Linked DNA regions of Homo sapiens: region 1 is linked to region 2. Evidence: promoter capture Hi-C in human tissues and cell types (Jung and others, 2019). All regions are on one chromosome and are shown on one strand. The core of a region is centred on a gene start or on the middle of the fragment in contact, and the rest is flanking DNA. Distances in the headings are between cores, read along the strand shown. Region 1 overlaps GKAP1 (G kinase anchoring protein 1). Region 2 holds the start of IDNK (IDNK gluconokinase).

The links. The method cuts DNA at HindIII sites, captures the fragments that hold promoters and counts their contacts. A contact is called where the count stands out against the background at its distance.
Region 1: a contact is called between a fragment that was not itself captured here and the fragment with the promoter of IDNK in region 2, in 1 of the 25 tissues and cell types used here (hippocampus).

What each region holds. Positions count from the first base shown.
Region 1 is chr9:83,814,705-83,817,558 of GRCh38, reverse strand. It overlaps GKAP1 (G kinase anchoring protein 1), which reads left to right. Exons shown (of 13, transcript NM_025211.4): 1 at 1-42; 2 at 432-563. Among named protein-coding and RNA genes, the nearest start is that of GKAP1, 1.6 kb to the left of the region's middle. RefSeq lists a silencer at 1-415. The HindIII fragment of the contact is 6,997 bases long and covers 1-2,854 here.
Region 2 is chr9:83,621,792-83,624,578 of GRCh38, reverse strand. It overlaps IDNK (IDNK gluconokinase), which reads right to left and starts at 1,436. Exons shown (of 5, transcript NM_001001551.4): 1 at 1,358-1,436. The coding sequence starts at 1,407. RefSeq lists enhancers at 832-881, 902-1,031 and a silencer at 1,212-1,741. The HindIII fragment of the contact is 12,457 bases long and covers 1-2,787 here.

The DNA.
Region 1 (2,854 bases), core at 94-2,593, 190 kb before region 2:
GAGGAGGGAGAGGAGGGCCGAGCCGGCGGCACGGGAGGCCCGGTGAGTACGCGGAGGCGGGCCCGCCTCGCGGGTGTCCGCTCCGGCACCCCGGAGGCGTAGGCAGCGGCTCGACAGCGCTCCCCTCGGCGCCCCGGCCTCGGGTGGCGGGGACTCGGCCTGAGGCGACGGGCCCCACTGACCGGAGCCGCTGGGCAGAGGGCACGGGAGGGCCGCGGCCCGACGCTCGGCGCAAGGCTCGGGGCGGCGGGGAGGGACTCGCACCCGACTCCCAGGCCGGCGACCGCTGAGCCTCCCGAGACCCCGTGGGGGCCGCTCGAGTGACAGGTGCCACCGTCCCCTCCCCGCCGCTGGCGCCCGCGCTCCCTCCCGGGGAGCCGGGCGCTCGGAAATTTCTGGAGCAACGACCTGACTCGTTTTCTCCCTTTCAGGTTTTGAAGCCGCTTCTCTGCCCGAGTTAGGTTTCGCCCAGCGCAATTTCTTTCTCTATGTACTTTGCGAATAAGTTTCGGAGCATCGGTTAACAGCCTATGGGTGAAATTTGGCTTTCATTCATGAATGAGGTATAGTGAATTACTTTTTGAATATAGTGCTCCTCCTCCTCCCCCGCCAGCTATTGAAAAGTGATTTTTTTTTCTGTTATTGTTTGGAACAGCCTTACCGAATTTTTGTCAGATCTCTAGCATTAAGGTGCTTCATAAATATTGAACAGTAACGACAAAAATAGTTTATCAAATTGGCTGATTGCCTTTTCTCTTCCTCCTCTTTTTCACTCTTTACCTTCGCCAGATTTTTCAGAGTAGATGCAAGTGCTTTCATTAGAAGAACTAATGAAAGATCGTCTGTCTTACACTAAAAAGCCGGAGACACTTTTCTTCACCATTTAGCATTGTCTGTTGTGTAGTAAATGTGCTTGGGATTGTAACTGGAATCATTTAATAAATGTGACTTGTAGCTATAAAAATATTTGAGAAGCTTTTTGGCAAATTAAAATATTAAAAATCTTCATAGAAGTCTAGATTTCTTTTCTCAACAGATTTATAACACTATAGTAGCTTCAATTCTGGAGTAAGAGCAAAACCCAGAAGTTGACCAAAAGAACCTTGTGTGAAAATAGATGTATTTTACTCGTGGGAGAATCCCTCAGGTCCTCACTGAGTACCTGCTTGTATTTTTTGTTTAACTTTCTTGGCCTGCAGAAAGTGGGAGCTGCAGATTGGAGAGGGATCTCAGTACTTAACTATGAGAAAAAAATGGAGTTTGGGGCATACCCATTGGGTTTACATCACTTACAGTAAGTGTGTTTGGAGCAGAGTTTTAGTATGCACTTCACACTTGCTGATTGTGAACCCTATTTTTTTTTTTTCTTGAGGCGGAATTTTGCTCTTGTTGCCCAGGCTGGAGTGTAATGGCGCGATCTCGGCTCACAGCACCTTCTGCCTTCCAGGTTCAAGCAGCTCTCCTGCCTCAGCCTCCTGAGTAGCTGGGATTACAGGCGCCTGGCTAATTTTTTTTTTTTTTTTTTTTGTATTTTTAATACAGACGGTGTTTCGCCTTGTTGGCCAGGCTGGTCTGGAACTCCTGACCTCGTGATCTGCCCACCTCTGCCTCCCAAAGTGCTGGGATTACAAGTGTGAGCCACCACACCTGGCCTGTGAACCCTAATTTTTAAGAAGCCAAAGTGAAAGATACTGTTTGGTTATCTGAAGAACAGAACATGAAATAACACAATTTTTTATTTCACCAGGTGTTAAATCAGTGATACTTGGTGCCATTTCATATTACGCTCAGTTAATTTCGATCTAAGTTATATTTCAGTGAGGCCACACTAATTGGCATCTACATTAATACCTTTTTTTGGTCAGGCTAATTGGTAGTGTTAATAGAAGATGGCTATCATTCATCTCATAAAAAGTAATATATTTGGTTGTTCTTGATTTAAGGATTTTATATGTATAATTGTGTGTGTGTGTGTGTGTGTGTGTTTTCTGAAGTTCCCTAATTGTGGTCTTCTGGACTGAGATATGGCTGCTGCTGTCTTGATTCTAGTGAGGTCATAGTGTAGAGGGATAAGGTCATAATGGCAATGTGCCTCCAAACCTTGATAGAGGCCAAGACTACCAGCCACTTAGGAATTCTTCTGCTTGGGTCGGGCTTGGTGGTGCATGCCTGTAATCCCAGCCCTTTGGGAGGCCGAGGCTGGAGGATTGCTTGAGCTCAGGAGTTTGAGATCAGCCTGGGCAACATAGTGAGACCCCATGTATACACAAAGAGAAAAAAAAAATTCTCCTGCTTGTAGCTTAGGCTATTCATTTTTAGAAGCAGTTTACTTAAGCAGCCAATGCATCCTAGTTCTCTTAAATTAACACTTTAGTTTTTCATTTTTTTGAGACAGTCTCTCGCTCTGTTGCCAGGCTGGAATGTGGTGGCGCAGTCTTGGCTCACTGCAACCTCTACCTCCCTGGTTCAAGCGATTCTCCTGCCTCAGCCTCCCGAGTAGCTGGGACTACAGGCGTGCGCCACCATGCCCAGCTAGTTTTTGTATTTTTAGTAGAGATGGGGTTTCACTACGTTGGCCAGGATGGTCTCGATCTCTTGACCTTGTGATCCACCCGCCTTGGCCTCCCAAAGTGCTGGGATTACAGGCGTGAGCCACCATGCCCGGCTGGCTTAAATCAACACTTTAAAACCAGATATGCTTCCTAGACAAAATTGGTTGTGGCAATTAGTTTGTTAGAATAGTACTTACCGTAATGAAACAACTTTGAACTGCTAATAATTGCTCATGCACATCTGCGTTATGGGAATTGAGGATTGTCTATTGTGCACTTCACATATTTCTTTTTCTACTTGT
Region 2 (2,787 bases), core at 187-2,686:
GGAGACATCCCTGACCACTCTGCCTGGCACTCTTTGTTCCCCTTACTCCAGAGCATCTATCACCAACTCACACACTACATATATTCATTTACTCTGTCTCCCATACCAGAATGTAAATCCTTTGAGGGCAGGGATTTTATCTGTCCTGTTCGCTATATGACAATGACATAGAGTAAGGATTGAGCTCAATAATTACTGAGTACATGAATATCACAAGCTATACATCATAGGGATTAGGCCTCCCTCATCTGATTCAAGACTCAGAGGGGGTACATGAACTGCCCAGGCTCACACAGCCAGACAGCAACAGAACCAAGACCTAGGGCTCTTCACTCCTGTTACATCACACCATGGCAATGATTTTACATTCTCCAACTGATTCAAATCATATGGCAGCTAGGGATTTGGGGGCTCCATGTTTTATTTCAATTGCAGTTCAAGATTTCTTTTTATCTTTGTGGCTGAGAACCCTACAATAATTTTGGAAAGCAAAACCCATCTACCTGGAGTAAATCTTTAATATACACCTGACTACACAGGCCACAACATGGGCCGTTCCTGATTCAGAAAATTCTAGAAGGGTCCTATAGGCCCTTGAAGGTTATGATGTTTTAGCTGATCAAGTTCTGTCCTTTGCTGCCTGTGGTCGAATGGTACAGCAGCTGTCTTTTCTGATAAAGGGCACAGTTAGACTTTGGTTTAAACAGGAAGCCAAATGTTAACTCCTCAGTCTCCAGGTTAGCACACTGGGCTACCTCTGTGGTTTCCACAATTCTCTTCTTTCTTTCCAAACCCTCAGGAGCCACCCTCCATATTAACGCTGTCTCCTTCCAGGTTAAGCTGATGAAAGGAAGGGGAAAACGATTCACTTTCCAAAATTGAATCGGAGAAGTCCAGGGCCTCATAGGAGGAGGCCGCTGTGTGTCCAGATGGCCAAAGGTCTGTGAGAGCCTGGGCCGTGGTTTGCGTCCTCTCGCTAGAGGCCGTGCGCCCTCCCGCCTGGCCCCGACAAGGCGCCCCGAAACCTAGCCCCGCGCCGCTCGCTAGGCCTCCACCTGCGCGGCCCCGCAGCCGCCTGTTCAGGAGCGGCTTCCTCCCTGAGCCTGCGGTCGCCGCAGCCTCCCCGTCTTAGAGCGGGAACCCGGAGCTCGGATGCGGTCCCAGGATGGGCGCCCCGCGAGCAGGCTGGAGGGCGGGGAGAGGGCGCGGCAGCCGCGGGCCTCGGTTTCTTCATCTGCAAAGGGAAGGGTGGGGGGTCCCCAAGACCCCAGTCCACCGGCAGGGACGGCGACGCGTCCGGCCTCCGCCGCGCCCGCAACACTTGTCCCGGGCGCCCCCCGCCCTCTCCCGGACCTACTTCCCCGAGCCGCTCACGCCCATCACCAGCAGCGCGCCCGGCGCCGCCATAACCCAAGCTCGGCTCCTTCCCGTCGCCTTCCGGGCCCCGCCGGCCCCGGCCTACCCGGCGCTCGAGGGGCGGAGCCGCTCTCGCCCCGGCCGGGGCAGTGAGGGCCGTGCCCCTCTGCGCCCTCCCCGTTTTCCCGCGCCCCTTTTCCATGCTTTCCTCCTCCCTTTCCCAACCTCCCGGCCTCTCTCTCCTGCCCCTTCTTTTCCTCTCCCCTCCCCTCCCTCTTTCCTCTTCCCGGAAGTGAAGCGCGCGCCCGGCCTGGCACTCGCGTCTCCCTGGGCTGGAGGGAGCCGCCCAAAGCCCCGCCACCTGTCGTTCTACTGCCCCGGCCCCTCTTGGTTCCAGAGGATCCTCACCCTGGCAGGCCGGATCCTCATCCACCCATGGAAAGCATTCATTCATTCATTTATAAAAATGTTCTTGTAAAAAGAATAAACAGAAAATAAGACTCATAATTTCCCACACCAGGCAGCAATAAGCAGCACTTCCTAAAACGACTCCCCTTTCCCCGCGCCCCGTCGTAGATAGATGGGTATGAGTATTTTGTAAAACTGGGATCAGGCCGTACACAGCGTTTTGTAATCTGGCCTTTTGTCACAATAATAAATGGCGGCCATCTTTTGGTGTCAAACTTAGGGTTGAGTGTTGACCGTAGCAGCATATGTCTTGGCTGTATGGCTCTGCTGTTAAATCCAGCACTGGTTGGGGCTTTAAGAGGAAGGAGCACCACTTTAAAGTGTCCATTTGCTTTAAAACAATGTTAATTATGTGTCGTTTGAACTATTTGATTAAAAGCACTTCTTTTTTTTTTTGAGACGGAGTCTCGCTCTGTCGCCCAGGTGGGACTGCGGACTGCAGTGGCGCAATCTCGGCTCACTGCAAGCTCCGCTTCCCGGGTTCACGCCATTCTCCTGCCTCAGCCTCCCGAGTAGCTGGGACTACAGGCGCCCGCCACCGCGCCCGGCTAATTTTTTTTGTATTTTTAGTAGAGACGGGGTTTCACCTTGTTAGCCAGGATGGTCTCGATCTCCTGACCTCATGATCCACCCGCCTCGGCCTCCCAAAGTGATTAAAAGCACTTCTAACCGCATTTGGCATCACCTCCTTTGGTCTTTTGTTAACCAAGGTAGGTATTACTCTGTGTCCTAGAAAACAATAAAAGTGACATAAAAGCATTTATCTAATGAATAGTTCAATTACCCCTGCACTGCCTTTGTTTTTCATATACTTAGCCCGAGTAGGTGAGATTTCAATCTGGATGGGGGCTGTACAGGTGAAGAAATTGAGGCTTGGAGAGAGGTCTTACAATTCAGTTATGGTCAATACACATTTCTTGAACATCTACCATGTGCTGGTTAATATCATATTAATATTCATTT